Linked DNA regions of Homo sapiens: regions 1, 2, 4 and 5 are each linked to region 3. Evidence: promoter capture Hi-C in 16 types of primary human blood cells and fetal thymus (Javierre and others, 2016). All regions are on one chromosome and are shown on one strand. The core of a region is centred on a gene start or on the middle of the fragment in contact, and the rest is flanking DNA. Distances in the headings are between cores, read along the strand shown.

Evidence for each region. The method cuts DNA at HindIII sites, captures the fragments that hold promoters and counts their contacts. A CHiCAGO score of 5 or more calls a contact.
Region 1: a contact is called between a fragment that was not itself captured here and the fragment with the promoter of GSDMA in region 3, in 11 of 17 cell types (activated CD4 T cells, total B cells, megakaryocytes and 8 more). The highest score is 10.2, in activated CD4 T cells.
Region 2: a contact is called between a fragment that was not itself captured here and the fragment with the promoter of GSDMA in region 3, in 1 of 17 cell types (neutrophils). The highest score is 5.1, in neutrophils.
Region 4: a contact is called between a fragment that was not itself captured here and the fragment with the promoter of GSDMA in region 3, in 1 of 17 cell types (total B cells). The highest score is 6.4, in total B cells.
Region 5: a contact is called between a fragment that was not itself captured here and the fragment with the promoter of GSDMA in region 3, in 1 of 17 cell types (naive B cells). The highest score is 6.5, in naive B cells.

The regions. Positions count from the first base shown.
Region 1 is chr17:39,631,800-39,635,790 of GRCh38, reverse strand. It overlaps PPP1R1B (protein phosphatase 1 regulatory inhibitor subunit 1B), which reads right to left. Exons shown (of 7, transcript NM_032192.4): 5 at 1,705-1,908; 6 at 65-184. LOC124903998 (a long non-coding RNA gene) reads left to right here. Exons shown (of 2, transcript XR_007065749.1): 2 at 765-1,153. Among named protein-coding and RNA genes, the nearest start is that of STARD3, 3.3 kb to the left of the region's middle. RefSeq lists enhancers at 1-502, 2,590-3,509, 3,510-3,991. The HindIII fragment of the contact is 4,225 bases long and covers 281-3,991 here.
Region 2 is chr17:40,421,815-40,425,954 of GRCh38, reverse strand. No RefSeq gene overlaps it. Among named protein-coding and RNA genes, the nearest start is that of TOP2A, 6.0 kb to the right of the region's middle. The HindIII fragment of the contact is 5,218 bases long and covers 1-4,137 here.
Region 3 is chr17:39,960,566-39,964,368 of GRCh38, reverse strand. It overlaps GSDMA (gasdermin A), which reads right to left and starts at 1,365. Exons shown (of 12, transcript NM_178171.5): 1 at 1,284-1,365. The HindIII fragment of the contact is 5,749 bases long and covers 1-3,803 here.
Region 4 is chr17:39,536,946-39,541,277 of GRCh38, reverse strand. It overlaps a transcript of CDK12 not described here. Among named protein-coding and RNA genes, the nearest start is that of NEUROD2, 69 kb to the left of the region's middle. The HindIII fragment of the contact is 2,290 bases long and covers 1,647-3,936 here.
Region 5 is chr17:39,574,193-39,577,988 of GRCh38, reverse strand. No RefSeq gene overlaps it. Among named protein-coding and RNA genes, the nearest start is that of NEUROD2, 32 kb to the left of the region's middle. RefSeq lists an enhancer at 2,859-3,433. The HindIII fragment of the contact is 2,619 bases long and covers 1,072-3,690 here.

The sequences.
Region 1 (3,991 bases), core at 1,144-3,643, 330 kb after region 3:
AGGGCCTGGCCCCACCCACCAAGATCCCAGCCCCTCCTCCCCATTTCACACTCCCAAGCCTTACCACTTAGTGCTGGGTCTTCCACTTGGTCCTCAGAGCCTCCATCTCTCTCGGACTCATCCAGAGGGGGTGGGCGCTCCCAGGGCCCTTCCAGACCCTGGCCACAGGTTGTCTTTTGCCCAGCTGGGGATGGGAAAGAAGAGATAAGAACACAGGCTCTGCGTATCCATCCGGCTGTCCTGGAGTGTGAGCTAAGTGTCTGATGGCTGAGGTTAAGCTTTCCAGGGGCATCATGGAAGCATGGAGAGAGAACTGGGCTAGAACAGCTCTCCCAGCAACTAGCCATATGGCTTACGTAAGTCAGTTAGTACCTTTCTGAAGGAAATAGAAAGGGGGAAATTGTGTAGATTACCTTAAACAAGATGTAATAGTGAATACCCTGCCCAGCCCAGCGCCAGCACCCAGGAGCCACTAGGAGTCGTGGTGGTTTATATTGCTCCATCATAGGACTATCATTTGACCCGGTGCCCTTCTGCATTTTTTGTTTGTTTGTTTTTTTTTGTTGTTTTGTTTTGGTTTTTTGTTTTTGTTTTTGAGATGGAGTCTCACTCTGTTGCCCAGGCTGGAGTGCAGTGGTGCGATCTCAGCTCACTGCAACTTCCACCTCCCAGGTTCAGGGGATTCTTCTGCCTCAGCCTCCCAAGCAGCTGGGATTACAGGTGTGTGCCACTGTGCCTGGCTAATTTTTGTATTTTTATTACAGATGGGGTTTCACCATGTTGGCTGGACTGGTCTTGAACTCCAGACCTCAAGTGATCCGCTAGCCTTGGCATCCCAAAGTGCTGGAATTACAGGCATGAGCCACCGCACCCAGCCACCTGCTGCTTTTCCTGAGGGAACAGTCTCCTCTCACCCCTCTTCCACTGTTTTGGAGGGGTCTCAGTGAGGACTGATTCAGGTCTTCCAGCTGTCTCTTGCCCACAAAGGGACTGAAGCCCAGCAACAGCTTTTGCCCCCATGGCCAATCTCTTCACTGCCAGATATGCAGGCAGGAGGCCCAAGGCCTTTTGTTTGTGTGGAAGAGCTGACAGCTTCTAGTAGGGGTGGTTGACTCTTCAGTATTCCCATAAATAATGAGACTAAAAAGGTTAATGGGCCGGGCTGGTTCTTGAATTTTAAATTCTACATCTAAACACTAGAGGGCACCCTCCCACTCCATCCTAGGAAGGAAAAAGAGGAGAAACAGACAACAGTCCTGGAGAGGGCAAGTAAATGAGGCAGCCCTCTGCACCCCAGCAGAGACCACATCCTAGGTTCAAAAATGTAGGTGAAATGCAGGTGACAGGGGTGTTGGACTCTCCTGGTCCTCCATCCCTGAATGTCCTCACGCCCCCTTACTGCCATAGGTGGGAAGTCCTCTTTTGGCTCTAGCCTCAAACCCCAAACGGCCTTGGCCTTAATTCTCAGGGAAGAGAGGAATTATTAGGGAAAACCTGATTGGGAGAGGGACTGAGCCAAGGATGGAGGAAACCCATGTCTCAGGTAGGGCTGAGTTCGGGGCACCCCATGGAGCGAGAAGACAGGGAGGCCCCTGTGGTGTCACTACAGTTTGCGTGTATGAGACACTGAACTAGAAGGGGACGTCCTCGTATACTCAAGGAGGACCCACAGCTAATCCACATGTCACAGGCCCCTCAGCTTACCAGACTGCCTGATGACCTTCAGGACTTCAGCCTGGCTGTCCTCTTCTTCTTCCTCTTCTTCATCATCCTCCTCTTCCTCCTCATCTTCCTCTCTTGGATAACCCAGCTCCCGAAGCTCCCCCAGCTCATCCTCCTCCTCTGAGGCCTGGTTCTCATTCAAATTGCTGATAGACTGCAGGTGAGACTCAGCAATGCGCTGCACAGCTGGCACAGAGGAGACCGAGGAAAGCAAGGGTCAGCTAGACACAGCCCATGGATCTGGAGATAGCCTGTGGCCTAGCCCCCAGCCTCCTTCCCGTAGGCCTGGGGCAGAGAATACCCCCTCAGGGGCCCAAGTTCAAAGGCCAAAGTTGACAGGTCAGCCTGATGGGTGTCAGACCAGGGCAGAGGCAGCCAGGGGTAGATTTGATCATGTTTGGCTCTTAAGCTGTCCTAAGATGCTAGCCCCCAGGCAGCTCCCCCACACCATAGGGCACTAGGCTGGGCAAGACCAGGCGGGCACAGCAGCAGCTTAACATTCCCTGGCTGGAGAGCTTGATTTTCCAAGTACCCAGTACGGGAGACAGTGTCTCCCAGCTTCAAGCCCAGGCAGAAGGCACAGGGCGTAGGAACCAGGGCCTGGGGATTTGCCACTTTCCATTTCTTGGGGGTGCCCAGCCTGCTGAGGGCTCACTGCTTACCCTGATCCTACCTCCCATGCGATGCATAGTCCCCACTCCCTGGCACTGCCCAGTCATAGATGCCAATCCACATACTCCTGCCCCGGGCTCCAAGGGACAGAACAATTCCGAGGCTGAGGACATAATAGTCTGCAGCCAGTGCAGTCTGTGCCGGGGGATGCGGCATGCTCAGATGCGGCCCCCACAATCTTGACCCACATCCCCAGGTTCCCAGCTCCCTCTGCGGTGACCTAGAAAGCAACCCCCCCAGCCTCCAAAGACCTGCTCAGATAGGGCTGGGAAGGGAACAGTGTGGGCAGCTGGAGACAAGTTTCCAAAAGATGGAAAGGAGCAAGGGGTTAGAGAAAGGGGCCAAGGCCAGGGGTTCTGGGGGATGGCAGAGGTTGAGGGGCCACTGAGGAGAGGCTGCAGGAGCTGGCAGGATCTTAGAACATATGCGACACAAAGTTCACAGGCCACAGACAAGATGCTGAGGAGGGGCTGGGGGTGGGGAATGGGGAGTTGCTGCAGTTCCTTCTTGGTCTGCCAGTGGCCCCTCCCCTCAGAAGGCCCAGAGGGGTAGGGCCAGGCTGGAAACCTCCGGCACAGTGAGCAGGGTGCTATGCTCCTGCCAACTCGGGGACAGGCACAGAGGGTGCTTTGTATGTGCCCGCTGCCCCACCCAGCCCCCAGCTCCCAGCCCAGTACCTCCTGCTGGCTCTGGGCAAGCTATCCAGGCAATAAAAGCACAATAAATCACCCTACCCTGACCTTGGGGACGCGGCAGAGCTTCATCTTGAGCCAAGTGTGAGAGCTCCAGCCTTGGAGCACAACCCCTCAAGCTAAGACTTAGTGCTGTGCCCCTCTCTCTAGGGCCCTCGATTCTTCCCTGACAAGCCCCAACCCTGCCGGGCACCTTCCCTTGCCCACAAAAGGACTGAAGCCTACAAAACAGTGCCCTCCTGGTAGAGAAGGATCCATGAGGGCTGTGGGGGGAGGTAAGGCAGGAGAGCAGGTGGCAGCCCAGGCAGCTTCCTTCTCCCCCAGCGGGGGAGGAGAGTTCACTTCGTGAGCCACAGTGACAACAGAAGGTGTGTGCGGTGCTTGCGCTGGTGCCCCGTGAGCCTCCCTCGCTTCCCCCACCTCCCTCATGCCTCCTGGGCTCTCTGGGGTCTCCCCATCACTCCTTCCAGGCTGTCTCCTTCTCTGCCCCACTCTGTGGGGCCCCAAACTCCCCCCACCACAAGTCTTCCTTCTTCAGTTGGAAGGTCCCCAGCCTTGCCCCAGACTGGCCACCCCTCTCCTGATCCCTTTCCTCTTCCCTGCCTCTACTCACCTGGACTCTCCTAAGATGTGGCCTAAAGGGGCAGTTGAGGGGGTGCACAATTTTGACCACTGCACGGTGCATGGTAGCACCCTGGCCCTAACATCTTCATCCTGGCCTGTTCGCCCATGCTTGCAGTCAAGAGCCAGGTCTTCCCCTCACATCCACCCAGCCTCTCCCTACCCAGCCCAAGGTGGGAGGGAGAGGGATTTCTTAAATTCTCTCCTGAGAAGATGACACTCTGTCCCTCATGCCTGCTTTGGGGCCCTTCCACACACCCCTCTAGGTGGGGAGGTCCTTCCAG
Region 2 (4,140 bases), core at 279-2,778, 460 kb before region 3:
ACTGGTGCCAGAGAGGGGCAATTGGGGATGTCTTAGGGAGCTGGCAGAGCCCCAGCCATACCACTAGGCCACGAGATGGGGGAAGGGATGTCACATAAAGAGTGAAAAGGATCCGTGGCCCTCCTCTGCCTCCCCATACACCAGGGTTCAGCCCCGATGGGCTTGAGCTCCTCTGCAGCCCTGGTTGGGCTCTGTGGGGGGGAAAGGAAGACAAAGCTGCAGGCATACCCTGATTTAAACCAACTCAATAAATGAAAAGTCATATTTGGAATTACAGTGTCAGAACTTGAAAAGCCCTTAACAGTAATTTACCCATTAATTTTAAAAATCTAAGCAGTGGAGCCCTGTGTTTAATGAAGTTTTACACAGAACCTAAAATATGAAAAGATGAAAGTGGGACTGTTCTGGATTGGTTAACTGGGCCTCACCTCCTCCAAGTGCTTTCACTATCACCTCTCTCTTTTTTTTTTTTTTTTTTTTTTTTTTTTGAGACGGAGTCTCACTCTGTCACCCAGGCTGGAGTGCAATGGCGCGATCTCGGCTCACTGCAAACTCCGCCTCCCGGGTTTGCACCATTCTCCTGCCTCAGCCTCCCGCATAGCTGGGACTACAGGTGCTCACCACCATGCCCGGCAAATTTTTTTTTTTTTTTTTTTTTGTATTTTTAGTAGAGACAGGGTTTCACTGTGTTAGCCAGGATGGTCTCCATCTCCTGACCTGGTGATCTGCCCGCCTCGGCCTCCCAAAGTGCTGGGATTACAGGCGTGAGCCACCATGCCCGGCCTCACTATCACCTCTCTGAGACTGTGAAGAAGGCATTTTGCAACCCAATCCTCTAGCTGGGGTACCTCAACTTCAGTTTACAGGTGGGGAAACTGAAAACTAGAGAGAGAAGGGGATTTACCCAAGCTCGTGCAACTAGGGACAGCAGAGCTGGTCTGGGACTTCTCACCACAGCACAGTGTCCCTTACTTTGGTCCAAAGATTTAACTTTTCTGCAGAGTTCTTAGCACTGAGTTCCCAAGTCTACTGATAATCTATCTTTATCTATAAAAATTACATTCTTACACAAACGTGTATAGACAGGTATGCCTGCCTTCAATGAGGTGGGGGAAGGTGACAGGGGTGAGAAGGGTGACCTTACTTTTAAATTTTCAAATAGGAGGAAAAATACAAAAAGCAACTCTTGGCTGGGTGCAGTGGCTCACGCCTGTAATCCCAACACCTTGGGAGGCTGAACTGGGAGGACCACTTGAGCCCAGGAGTTGGAGACCAGCCTGGGAAACATAGCAAGACCTCGTCTCTAAAAAAAACATTTTTTTTAATCAGCCAGGCTTGCTGGCACAGGCCTGTAGTCCCAGCTACTTGGGAGGCTGAGACAGGAGAATCGCTTGAGCCCAGGAGTTTGAGGCTGCAATGAGTCATGATGGTGCCACTACACTCCAGCCTGGGCAACAGAGCTGAAACTGTGTCTCAAAAAGAAAGAAGAAAGGAAGTCTTCCTTTCCCTCCACCTCCTTACAATTCCTTCCAGATATTCTCAATCCATATATATATACATATATATATACTCAATCCATATATATACACATATATGTGTATACACATATATGTATATATAATATATACACATATGGGTATACACATATATGTATGTATAATATATATAATTTTATTTACTCAAATGGAATTATGCTCTAGACAGTATTTGCCTCACTTTTTAAAAAACTTAACAGTATATCTTAGAGATACCTCCATATCAGTACACTTAGACCAATGTCCATCTCTTTAATAGCTGCATATCATTTCATTCCATTAGCTTGCTGCCAGTTATTTTCTATTAAAAACAATATTGCAATAAATAGGCCGGGTGCAGTGGCTCACACCTGTAATCCCAGCACTTTGAGAGGCCGAGGCGGGTGGATCACTTGAGGTCAGGAGTTCGAGACAAGCCTGGCCAACATGGTGAAACCTCATCTCTTCTAAAAATACAAAAATTAGCTGGGCGTGGTGTCATGTGCCTGTAGTCCCAGCTACTCAGGAAGCTGAGCCAGGAAAAATCACTTGAACCCAGGAGGCGGAGGTTGCAGTGAGCCGAGATTGCACCACTGCACTCCAGCCTGGGCGACACAGCAAGAATCCGTCTCAAAAAAAAAGAAAAAGAAAAAGAAAAGAAAAAGAAAACCACCAACATTGCAATAATCCTATACATATGTACATACATCTTTGCACAATTCCACAACTGAATTGAATTGATTGAATTCAGTATTCCTAGAATTTAAACTGCTGAGTTACAAGGTGTGTACATTTTAAAATTTTTGATGGATAGGGAACTTCTGTGCAGACTTAGGGATTACTCAACTCTGGTCCTGAACTGCTCCCCTCTGTAACCTCCCTTGCTCTCCTCCCAACTTTGTCCACATTTCTTTGACAGGGGCCACCTAGAGGCTAGGCTGTATGGGACATTTTGGGTTTTCTTGGCCTCCTCCAACCAGAGGCTGGTATCCCTGGTAAAAAAATAAACAAATAAAAATAAATAAATAAATAAACTGACCAGGCTCGCCAGTTGTCAACCTCAAGGTAAACAGAGCTTCTTGGCCCAGCCCTAACCACCTGAGTACTCTGGCGCTGGCTCAGCCTCATCCAGGAATTCCCAGTGGGCTCCAGCCTAGCCAGCTCCAAACCCCAAATCCAGAGCCACACTTTCAGTCCAGCCTCCTTCTGCTGGGAAAGCCTGCAAAAGAGAAGAAATGCTGCTCTTTCTAGGGGACCTTCCAGATCCATGAAGGGGACACTATGCCTCCAGGACCTTCCCTCCCCTTGCCAAAGAGCAGAAAGAACGGAAGCACACAACCCAGGAGAAAACAACCAAAGAATACTTATAAAAGGAACTTATCTGCATATGCAAATATACCTCAAAAGACTTGAGGAGGTTCAATGAAAAAGACTGTCAGAGAAGGCTCCCTGGGTAGGAGAATTTTGAGCTGGTTTTGGAGAAGGAATTGGTGGGACTAGCAGGGAAGGAAGATCCTGGAAAGGAGCAGAGGTAGTCATTGTTAACATGTCTTGAGCACTTATTACTTGCCAGACAATGCACTAAGAATTTGGTGTAAGAATTTTGCAGAGTGGGGCAGGGTGGGTGGATAATGAGGATAGCTCACCCTATGAAGAGCAGGAGGAGGTACTCCCATTATCCCCATTTTAGATTGTTAAAAATTATAGGCCGGGCGCCGTGGCTCACGCCTATAATCCCAGCACTTTGGGAGGCCGAGGCGGGTGGATCACGAGGTCAGGGGTTCGAGAATAGCCTGACCAACATGGTGAAACCCCATCTCTACTAAAAATACAAAAATTAGCTGGGCGTGGTGGTGGACACCTGTAATCCCAGCTACTCAGCAGGCTGAGGCAGGAGAATTGCTTGAACCTGGGAGGTGGAGGTTGCAGTGAGCCAAGATCACACCACTGCACTCCAGCCTGGGCGAAAGAGCGAGACTCCGTCTCAAAAAAAAAAAAAAAAAATTATGGGAGGTTGGCTGGGAGCGGGGGCTCACTCCTGTAATCTCAGTGCTTTGGGAGGCCAAGGCAGGCAGATCACTTGAGGTCAGGAGTTCAAGACCAGCCTGGCCAACATGGCGAAACCCGCCTCTACAAAAATTAGCTGGGTGTGGTGGTGCACGCCAGTAATCTCAGCTGCTGCAGAGGCTGAAGCAGGAGAATTGCTTGAGCTCGGGAGACCGAGGTTGCAGTGAGCCGAGATCGCACCCCTGCACTCCAGCCTGGGCAATAGAGTGAGACTCCGTCTAAAAAAAAAAATTATGGAGGCCATTGTTTTCAACTGAGCTCCTACACTAGGCCCCAAAAGACTAGACCAAACCAAGATGGAGTAATTCGTGCTAAATGCCATGTAATCCAACTGAAACTTTAAAGAAGCAGATAGATTCCAAAACAGACCACTTTTTCCTGAAAACAGGAGAGTCCAATCTACCTAAGTCAGTTTAATAAGGAAGTCCCCTCTGCTTTAACTCCACAAAAAAGTAACCTGAAGTACCTGATGTTAACCAATCAGGTTTTTTCCTATTGCTGTTTCCTGGTTCCCACCTTACAAAACCCACCATTCTGCTATTGCCCAATGGAAGCTTTC
Region 3 (3,803 bases), core at 116-2,615:
TCGAACTCCTGACCTCAAATGATCCGCCCTCCTTGACCTCCCAAAGTACTGTGATTACAGGTGTGAGCCTCTGTGCCCAGCCAGGATCCAGGCATTTTGATGCTCTTCACCTTTGCCCCCTCTGCTTACAATACCCGCTTCCGGATCTGAAGACTCCCTAGTCCTCCGCTAATGCTCAATTCAGGTCACCTCCTGGAACCTCTTCCCTCAGTCCTCCAGGCAGCTGGTGACTGTATCTGTGTTTCCAAAGCGCTCTTCTGATGCACCTTCCTTTGTTATGATCTGTTCACCTGACCCTATCAGCAACTCGTCTGTGACTTCCCAGAGGGCAGGAAATGGGTCTTAGTCACCTCTGCAGCAGCAAGTACCACACCTGGCACAGAGTTCGAGCTTGGCAAATGTGTGTGGAAAGAACCAATGAATGTGGCCCTGAGAGATGTGCGCTAGGATGAGAGGGCCCTGGAGAATGTGGGGCCCATGGGAACCTGAGAGGCAACATTTTTTTTTTCTTTTTGAGATGGAGTTTCATTCTTGTTGCCCAGGCTGGAGTGCAATGGCATGATCTCGGCTCACTGCAACCTCCATCTCCTGGGTTCAAGTGATTCTCCTGCCTCAGTCTCCCAGGTAGCTGGGATTACAGGCGCCTGCCACCATGCCCAGCTAATTTTTGTGTTTTTAGTAGAGACGGTGTTTCACCATGTTGGCCAGGCTGGTCTTGAACTCCTGACCTCAGGTGATCCGCCCATCTCACCCTCCCAAAGTGCTGGGATTACAGGTGTGAGCCACCGCACCTGACCTGAGGGTCAACATCTTAAGTCTCTGTCTTTGAAGTTTGAGTCCAGGTGCTCTGGCTGGGTGGCCGATCGGCACACCCCAGTTATCCCCGTGGGTGGAAGAGGCCACACCAGCTGGCTTGGAAGCATCCCACATCCACCACAGGCACTTCACAGCAGCAGGGGGGGCAGGAAGCACGGCACAGATGCGTGGGGCTGTTCTGCCAGCTTCAAGGTGCTTTTTTTTTTTCACCCTCATTCCTGGGAGGGCCAGGATGGGGCAGGACAACCTCCTGGTGCTACCTGGGTGCACCTGGGAAGGGCTTGGGCAACAGCAGCCTCCTCTTCACCAGAGAGATGTCCACAGGCCTGCCTCTCCCTTCCCTCCCCAAGGCCTATCGGGATACTTATCCCACTGGACTCTAGGGGAGTTCCATTCCCTTCTTGGTCCACCCATCTTCCTGTGTCCTCAGAGCACCCCTGCCTTCCCTGCTGTCATCAAGTTCTTACCTGGGAGCGGGGCTGGGTCCTATCCAGCAGCTGGGTCTGGGGTGAGGGCCTAGGGCTCACTGGGTCTGTAGGTTGAGAGGATGACCATCCCTTGCCAGGACAGGCTGCTTTATGCAGGGACAGAGGCTTCCGGGGACCCCGCCTGCCCTAGTGACCCCACCCCCCTCCCACTCCACTTCCTGGAGAACAACATCAACCTGTTCCACGTGTGCCCTGGCCTCCTGAGGGCTGAGGGGGTGGATAGGGAGCTGCCAGGCAGGTGCCAGCGTGGGTGGGGGTAGCCAAGGCTGATAGAGAGGTGGCAGCTGGAGGTTGGCTTGTGGATTGAGAGGAGAGGAAGGCAGGTGCCTTTGGGAGGGGTGCAGAGGGAGGCAGTGGGAGTGTGTGTGTGTGTGTGTGTGTGTGTGTGACCAGGGATGGCATCTCTGTTCTGTCATCATCACCGTCATTGGGGAGCATCTCGGATTCATGGTGGGGGTCTGCGGGTGTCCTGGGATAGGGATTCCTGTATGTCCACACATTCCAGTAGAGAGCAGAGCATCTGCAGTGCCGCCCTCCATCCTGGGCTTGTCAGCCTGTGTGTATTGCTGCCTTACTCCATTTGTTTTAGCTACATAGACATAACTCTGATACCGCTAGAAGCAGATGTCTGAGTAGGCAGAGATGGAGTTAGACCAAATGGGTTTGTGTTGTTTAGTGTTCAGCGTCTCTGCTTCTCACAGAATATTGTATACACACATCAGCATATCCGTAGGCAGGGGCACGGCGATATTCATGGAAAAGCCCAGGAGGCTTGTCGTGGGCTTTCAGATGTTGCACCAGAGGTCACTCAGGTCCTCCTCTTAGCTTAAATCTCTGCCTAGAAGGAATTTTAAAGGAATTTCAAATGTTGCCTACATGGTCACATTGCTAGAGGACAGAATAAGGGACTTACAAGCAAGGCCCTTACAGTGTTGGGCCATGTGGCCATGCATATGTGCAGGTATAACCTGACACAGCAGAGCCTTCCTGCTCCCACCTTGAGGCTCTTCTTAGTACCACTCATGGAAAAAGAAACGCAACCCTGAATGCTGTGAAGAGTAAATTCCATCTTTTTTTTTTTTGAGAAGGAGTCTCGCTCTGTCCTCCAGGCTGGAGTGCAGCGGTGCAATCTCAGCTCACTGCAACTTCCACCTCCCGGGTTCAAACAGTTCTCTGCCTCAGCCTCCCGAGTAGCTGGGATTACAGGCATGCACCACCATGCCTGGCTAGTTTTGTATTTTTATTAGAGACGGGGTTTCGCCATGTTGGCCAGGAGGGTCTTGATCTCCTGACCTCATGATCCGCCCGCCTCGGCCTCCCAAAGTGCTGGGATTACAGGATGAGCCACTGCGCCCGGCCAATTCCATCTTTACTGAACGTTTCCTTGAGGGGCTGATGGTGAATGAGACTAGACCATTCCACACTTAGGAAAACTCCCTAAAATAGTCATTACTCCACTTGTGTCCCCAAAGTCTCATTCAATATGACAGATGCTCCCAAATATCTCTTCTCTATGTCTTGAAACAGAACAAAGCCAAGCCTTGCCTCTGCCTCTCTGGTCCCTGCTCACTCTCTTTTTCTTTACATACTTTCCCATCCACCCTACACCTTTTTGAGACGGGGCCTCGCTCTGTCACCCAGGCTGGAGCGCAGTGGCTTGATCATGGCTCACTGCAGCCACCCAATACTTCATCCTCCTTCCACAGCTCCAGCCATTCCAGCAATCAAATGTCCCTTCTCCTTAGGAGAGGCAGAGGTGGGGGCTTGAGTGTGTGGGAAGGTTGTCGTTAGGCTGGGTGCGGTGGTTCACGGCTGTAATTCCAGCACTTTGGGAGGCAGAAGTGGGTGGATCACCTGAGGTCAGGAGTTCGAGACCAGCCTGGCCAACATGAGGGAAACACCATCTCTACCAAAACTGCAAAAATTAGCTGGGCGTGGTGGCAGGTGCCTGTAATCCCAGCTACTTGGGAGGCTGAGGCAGGAGAATCACTTGAACCCGGGAGGTGGAGGTTGCAGTGAGCCGAGATCGTGCCACTGCATGCCAGGCTGGGCGACAGAGCAAGACTCCGATTCAAAAAAAAAAAAAAGAAAAAGAAAAAAAAGGTTGTCGTTAGTCATCTGGTCCCTATCACAAGCACATATTTACATAGAAACCTGCTGTGTGTGTTATAGTCCTTTCATCTCTGTCTGTTTTCCTGGATTTCCACCTCTTCCTCCTTGTATCTCTCAGCCACTACACTGACGTGATGCCTGCATTTCAGCATATAGTCCTGAGGCTGTGCAGTCTCCTTATGCCTTAATCAGCTCCAGGGAAGATAGTCCCACTCCCACCCTCTCACCAGCCTAGCATTGCCTCGGTCAGACTTTTGGGAGTTTCTTCCCAGTGACTACCCTTCTCCCACTGGCTGCAGGCCAAGGTTCCTAGTTTAGTGGATTCTGCAAAGATCTGGAGAACAGTGGCATCTAAAAGCCACACGTGGCTCTGCTCTCCCCAAGGAC
Region 4 (4,332 bases), core at 1,542-4,041, 420 kb after region 3:
AGACTGAGAGCAGGTATGGGGCAGGAAGGAGTATGATAAGCATACCTCCCCACCCCCCAGACTTAGCACACACCTAGGGAGCCCCCCATAAGTAGTAGCTGCTAATCCAACTCAACTGTGTGTAGATGGGAAGAAGAAAGCAGGGACATGTGTAAACACATCCACAGCATTGACATAAGTGTTCAATCAATGTCCATATACTCTCATTCTCCCCTACTTTAAGCCTGTAACAAGCCATGGTGGGAGGCGACACCATATCCCAGTCTTCCCCTTCCCCAAAGTTGGAAAGGAAGACACAGTGAGACAGGAGCTACTTGGCTTCCTATAAATTGTTTTGTCCTTCCTCTCAGCTGCAATCAGAAGCTAAGGGCTCCCGCAGGCCTTGTTCTGATCTGCTGCAGGGAATGGAGGGTTTTTGAAACAGAGAGGACTTGGCTGAGGCCCCGTTTCAGCTGCCGTTGGGGCTGGCTAATGGGCTCATTCGGGAAGACCCCCGCCTGCCGCACTAAAGAGTCCCCCGCCGACCCCCGCCCCAGTCCCAGCCCAATTAATAAATGGGGGCTCCCACTTTATGGCTCTGGGAGCAGGAATCAGAGATACAAATGATCCCTAGGGAGGGACAGAAAAAGGCCTTCCAAGAATCAAGCTAGAGAATTGTGCATCCACAGGCACATGCTGCCACAGGCTAGTCATATCCCATTTTCAAAGCATTAAAGGGGAAGAAACTGGCAAAAATACTATTTTCTTTCCCAGATCCAGAGTAGGATAGCATTCTTGAAGTCTATGGGCACACCCTAGCAACAGACTCCCTCTTGCCTGGTTCTTCAACCTGAAAAGGGCAGGGTGCATGCAGGTTATCATCTGGACACATGGTGCATGCTCCACTATCCTCCAGGGGCAGTGCCCCCTCCTAGACTCTGCAATACTGAACATTGACACATCCTATCAATTGGTTAATAAGACAAAACACTTCCTACTTAAAAACAAAGCAGTTCCCTCTTATCAAGCTTTCATCACCACCAACAGCACAAATGTGTCTTGGGATCATCATCCTGAGGCTTTTATCCCTCTCCTCACATCCAAGCTGTGACCAAGCCTTGCTAATTCCTATGGACCCACTTTCTTTCCTCTGATTCTCCTTGTCTTACTCTACTGTAAACTCTCAGTGCTTCATGTCTTGGCAAGAACAATAATATTTTAGTGAACTTTCCTGCTTCCTTGACCAAGTACTGCTACAAAAGTCCTCAATGTGATTTTCATCTCATCATGCTCTGTTCCCTGCTACTGCTTAACAACTCAAATTCCTCATTCAAGCCAATGAGATTGCTCCTCCAACTTCATTTCCTAATACTCCTTTCCTGTACCATTCTGGTCAGCCAATTCACAGCCTCTGCACAAAACATACATGAGCCCTCTTCCATGAGATTCCTCCCACTGCTCACCTTCCTCTTCTGTTCTATGTCCCCTATCTTCTTTATTTTCAAATAATTGTTTCTGAATAAGTCCACTTTCTCCGATTATTTCTTTCCTTTGGTTTCCTCTTATTATAATAGTTTTATATTACAACCTGCATTGATATGTTGACTTACAGATTCCCCACTCTCCACCAGCTGTAAGACTGACCTCTCTCACAAGACCCAGAAGCTTCCTGAAGGTGGGACCCTCCCCCAGTCTTCTTCCTCAGAGGTTGTCCTGTCTGTACACAGGACATGCCTCTGCTAATGATATTAATGCTCCCCACTGAAGCAGCCCTCATGGTATAACTATTGGGATATTATATCAAACAACCATGAGGAACACAATCTTATTCTGTCAATTTTCAAATTGCCACCTGCCTTGAACTTGGCACTGAATCTCCCCAAGATTACAAATTCAGTTTCATGACTTCAAAGTGTTACAAAACAAAACAAAAAAACAAGTACAGTCACCAAAGGAATTTATCTCCTTCATTCATGGTAGATAAATACTATTCTCTTTGAAGACATTTTAGGATGAGAAGCTCCATTTTGTTTCCTATTTGTACAATTAATCCCACATTCTCAGGTCATGACTTGATTTTCCAAAATGAAAATCAATTCCAGAGCCAAGAGTAATCTTGGTCCCTATCAGTCCTAACTCTTATCAACATGTTTTGGAAGGTCTCTAGGAATGGAGAAGTTATTTATGAGTCGCTTTCAACAGTTTGGCAAATACTTCCTTAGATTAACCTCACTCTCAAATGCTGACTCTTTACTTCCTCTAGTTTAGCCCTGTGTGGTTAGAGAGAAAAACGTGGTCTACCACTCCCTTTTATCTCCTACATATTGCTCAGGATACTAGCCTTATGTATGTATGTATGTATGTATGTATGTATGTATGTATGTATGTATGTATTTATTTGAGATGGAGTCTCATTCTGTCGCCTAGGCTGGAGTGAAGTGGCGCAATCTTCACTCACTGCAACCTCCACCTCCTGGGTTCAAGCAAATTCTCCTGCCTCAGCCTCCCGGGAAGCTGGGACTACAGGCTTGTGCCACCACGCCTGGCTAATTTTTTGTATTTTTAGTAGAGATGGGGTTTCACCGTGTAAGCCAGAATGGTCTCGATCTCCTGACCTCGTGATCCACCCACCTTGGCCTCCCAAAGTGCTGGGATTACAGGCGTGAGCCACCGCTCCCAGGTAGCCGGGGTTTGCCATTTATTCATTCTATCCCTTAGCCTCAAGGTGCTAATCAATCAAGATAAAAACAAAGCACTTAGGCAGCGCCTGACACATAGCAGGTACCCAACAATGTTAGTTCCCTTTCTCTCCCTTCTTTCTCGCAACACCATACATGTTCCTCGGCCTTTCTGGGCATTTTTTACTGGTTAAAGATGGTACTGAACCAAACAAACTAATCTTCTTTTGTAGCTCTAACATTCTGTGACTCTAATTCGCATATTCTCGTTTGTTCTTCTATGCACTGCCATCATTTGGATCTAAAATGAGTGGCAGAGGAATACTACTAGTCTCTAGGTTGACTTAGCATACCTAAAACCACTTGCAGGAGTTTTGAAATTCAAACAATACAAATAACTGTTTAATGTGATGCATCCATGTCATTCCTCCTTATTCTTGAATTACTCTCTTGAACTATGTAGATAACAGTGTTAAGTAAATGTCCTTACATATTGCTTAACATATTTGCCCATCTTTTCTAGTTTCCCTACAGAAAATGTCTTCATAGTATCCTAGGGGTTCTTGGCCCATCCTCCAACCCTAAAGGTAAGACTACTGTAATTAAGGGGAATTCTTTACTCAGTATTGGTGCTTTAATGGGGTCTTCCTGAAATGAACTGTGAATCTCTAAGAAAATTATCCTATAAATTTCACTAACTCAACCATAATTTTTCCTTCCATCCTGTATCCCTCTCTTCTTTATAAGCAATTATATCCAAGCTGGGCGCGGTGGCTCACTTTGGGAGGCCGAGCACTTTGGGAGGCCGAGGCGGGTGGATCACAAGGTCAGGAGTTCAAGACCAGCCTGGCCAGCATGGTGAAACCCTGTCACTACTAAAAATACAAAAAATTAGCTGGGCATGGTGGCACGCACCTGTAATCCCAGCTACTTGGGAGGCTGAGACAGGAGAATTGCTGGAACCTGGGAGGTGGAGGCTGCAGTGAGCCGAGATCACACCACTGCACTCCAAGAAGAGCAAGTCCATCTCAAAAATAAATAAATAAATAAATAAATAAATAAATAAATAAATAAAAATAAGGAATTATACCCCAAGTCTCTTTCTGCAGCCCAGCTACCAGACTCTTCTAGTTCTCCCTTCTTACCCTTATTTCCACCTCTTATATTGCTTCATTTTCTGAGACTTTTGGTCCCCTAACAGAAATTATAAATATTAACACTAGTATAAGGCCAAACTAAAAAGTTCCAGACTTTAAAAAAGGGACCAGGCTACTAAGCTTTCTTTAGGTCTTTGAATTCAGCCTGTTTTCTCCAGGTCCAAATGCATTCAAAATTGCATTAGCCTTGGTGAGGAGGGTCATCTACAAGCTGATCCTCACCAAGGGTGTCCCTCATTAGGCACTATTGTAGTTCTGAGACTGAGGAGGGAGAAGGATCCCCTCCTAGAGAGTCCATCAGATAGGCCCCTTAGGTAGAGAAAAGACATCCTCCAAGACTCAGACTTTGTTCTTTACTTAGCTCTGACTGCTATATGGTGGACTTCTTAAAGGTTTCTTCATGCTGCCTCCCTCAGGGTTGGTTTGGCCTGGATAAAATGCCCTTCATTCCTTTAGAGCTGTCAATACTATCTGTAGTTTACAAACATGCCAGAGCAAGATATCAAAAAGTCCATCCA
Region 5 (3,796 bases), core at 1,132-3,631, 390 kb after region 3:
GTAATCCTAACTTGGGAGGCCAAGTTGGGTGGACTGCTGAGCTCAGGAGTTCAAGACCAAGCTTGGCAACACGGTGAAACCCCCTCTCTACTAAAATACAAAAAAATGGCCGGGTGCCATGGCTCACGCCTGTAATCCCAACTCTTGGGGAGACCAAGGTGGGTGGATCACCTGAGGTCAGGAGTTCCAGACCAGCCTGGCCAACATGGTGAAACCCCGTCTCTACTAAAAATACAAAAATTAGCTGGGCGTGGTGGTCTGCACCTGTAATCCCAGCTACCCAGGAGGCTGAGGCAGGAGAATCGCTGGAACCTGGGAGGCAGAGGCTGCAGTGAGCCGAGATTGTGCCACTGCACTCCAGCCTGGGTGATAGAGCAAGGCTCTGTCTCAAAATAAATAAATAAATAAATAGGACCAGGCACGATGGCTCATGCCTGTAATCCCAGCACTTTGGGAGGCCAAGGCAGGCAGATCACGAGGTCAAGATAAAGACCATCCTGGCCATCATGGTGAAACCCCATCTCTACTAAAAATACAAAAATTAGCTGGGCGTGGTGGCGGGCGCCTGTAGTCCCAGCTTCTTGGGAGGCTGAGGCAGGAGAATCGCTTGAACCCGGGAGGCAGAGGTTGCCGTGAACCAAGATTGTGCCACTACATTCCAGCCTGGCGACAGAGCGAGACTCCATCTAAAAATAAATAAATAAAAATAAAATAAAATACAAAAAATTAGCCGAGTGTGGCAGCGTGCACCTGTAGTCTCAGCTATTTGGGAGGCTGAGGGCTGAGGCAGAATTGCTAGAACCCAGGAGGTGGAGGTTGCAGTGAGCCAAGATCACGCCACCGCACTCCAGCCTGGGTAACAGAGCAAGACTCCATCTCTACAAAAAAAAAAAAAAAATTTGGGGCAGCTTTAGACCCTCTTAGCACAGACTTCACCCTCTTAGCACAGACTTCACTCTCAAAAGGCACCTACAAATGCCTGAATGAATGCATGGGCAGGTGAAGGGCCCTGGCTCATTCAAGGTCGCTGTAGAATTCCTAGAGTCAAGGTCACTCTAGGAATTATAAGCTTCTATTAGTTATCTGTCCTAAGTATAGGAAAGAATGGCCTAGAATGCCCCAACTATATTCCTGGACTTTGTGGAGGAGGCCCAATGTAGAGACCAGGAATGATGAAAAAATTTCATTTTACAGAGGAGGAACTTAGGACTCAGAAAGGGAGGTATAACAGGCCAGAGCCACGGGGTAAGTCAGGAAGCTCAGAACTGGGGCCTCTGACTCTCAGTCCAGTGCTCTTCTTCACCTGCATCATGAATCTGAAGGAACATTTTCAGCCACTTGTCCAGTCCCAGGAGAGCCTACAAGGGGCTGGAGTTTTGGGAGGCAGTGGGAGAGTTGCTCCAAGAGGCTTTTCCTGAGGAGAAAGGAACAGAGGGGCTGGGGAGGCTTCTTAACTCCCTCTCCTGCCTCAACACACACATTGACACACAACGGCAGAAATTTTATTTCCAAATGTCCCTTCTCTGGGGAGCTCGCTGTTTCCCAGGAGACGCCGGGTAGAGATGCCCCTTCCTGCCAGCCTCCCTGGCAGCCACTAGGCGGCTGTGGCTTCATCTTTTGCCTGGAGACGCCACAGTGAGGGTCCCACATGGTTTGTATTAATAGGAAGTGGAGCTGAGGGCTATAGGCGCTGAAGATAGGGCAGGCCAGCCAGGGATGGGTGGGCAGACAGGCCAGTGGGTAGACTAAGGCAGCCACACACAGGGCCACACTGAACAAAGGTCCTGGGCAGCTTTGCAAACCTAGATACATGAGCTAACCTGATTCTGGCTACTGGCAAACTGGAAGTATTTTTATTGTGTTTTCCCTTTGAATATAAAGATACTGGATGACTGGTGTAAAAATAGGGAATTCCAACAAAAGGGAATGAACAAAAGCCCCAGACTCAAATTTTAGGATGTCTTTTCCCGTAGGAAATGAATTAGCCTCTGACAGAAGTCTAGGGGAAGAGTCTGCTGTACTCAGGAAGGACAGGAGGAAGCATCATGACACTGTGGAATGCTCTAGAATCTGGGAGGTGTCCCTGCACCGACCCCTAGTATTGGAGAGCCTGCTGTGTGCATTGGTCTGTTGTCCCCAGATCAGTAGTTTCACAGTGGGGTTTTATTTCTTGAGATGGAGTCTCACTCTGTCACCCAGGCTGCAGTGTGCAGTGGCACGATCTCAGCTCTCTGCAACCTCTGCCTCCCGGGTTCAAGTGATTCTCGTGCCTCAGCCTCCTGAGTAGCTGGGATTACAGGTGCGCACCACCATGCCTGGCTACTTTTTGTATTTTTAGTAGAGACGAGGTTTCACCATGTTGGCCAGGCTGGTCTTCAACTCCTGACCTCAGGCGATCTGCCCACCTCGGCCTCCCAAAGTCCTGGGATTACAGGCATTAGCCACCGAGCCCGGCCTCAGTGGAGTTCTTTCCATCCTGTGTTTTTTCCATACTCCCAACCTGCTGGGTGCACCATGCTGCCCTGCTGTTGTCACCCAGTCAATGTGGGTTGCAAGAATAATGAATTTACAGAAGAGGAAACAGGCCCTGAGATAGACACTGAAGTTGCCAGAGAGGCTCAGATCACATTCACAAGCATGACAGGTATACATTAAACGGCCTCAAATTCTCCACCAGTTCCCTCTTTCCCAGGGCTGAGAGGGATCAAAGGTTGGAGTCTATGGAAGAAACTTCCCAGGTCTGGCCCTTGGACAGGACAGGGGCAAGGCACGAGAGGGAGACTGTCAGGGATTGTGGGAAGAGAGGACCCAAGGAGAGAAGGACAGTAGTAGAGAGCCTGGTGTAAACCTAGATATTGAATCCGTGCAATGCCAATGAGGTAAAGAGCAGTTTTGCCCCTCTACTGTGACAATGGGGCGGCTTTGGCTGGAAGGTTTGAGGTAATCTTCCAGTTAAGCAGGGATTTAAGCATATGGAGAAGACTCACCTCCCTCAAGGTATCCACCCAAAACAGCAGCAGGGATAGAGGTCAGCCCCTTATCTCCCTTTCTTCTTTTTGCCAGAGGACTTAAGGTCCTGCCATCTACACATTACATATTATCCCATTTAGTCATTGGCAACTGGCTTATCCCTATTGTATAGATGGATAAGCCATGGCTAAGAAAGGTAAAGCGACTTGCCCAGGCTACAAACCAAGTGGCGGAACTAAGTAGATGCTCCAATCTCAGTTCTGGCCCCAGATGCTCTTTTTTTTTTTTTTTTTTTTTTTTTTTTTTTTTTTTTTTTTTGAGACGGAGTTTTGCTCTTGTTGCCCAGGCTGGAATGCAATGGTGCAATCTTGGCTCATTGCAACCTCTGCCTCCCGGGTTCAAACGATTCTCCTGCCTCAGCCTCCAGAGTAGCTGGGATTACAGGCGCCCGCCACCACGCCCAGCTATTTTTTTTTTTTGTATTTTTAGTAGAGGCGGGGTTTCACCATGTTGGCCAGACTGGTCTCGAACTCCTGACCTCATGATCCGCCCGCCTCGGCCTCCCAAAGTGTTGGGATTACAGGCGGGAGCCACCGCACCCGGCCCAGATGCTCTTTTTAAGGTGTCAGTACTTGGTTTGGGCGTGGGGTGGGCACACCATGCTGGATTCTGGGGAAAAGGTCCTCTCCCTCACACAGACTCCTGGCCTTCCTTTAAGCTTAGATCCTTGCGGGGTGTCCTGTGTTGGTTGGGTCCAGACCCTGCCCCTGCTTCTACTGAGAACTGTACTGAGAAGATGCCCAGGGAGGCACATAAGACACGCGTC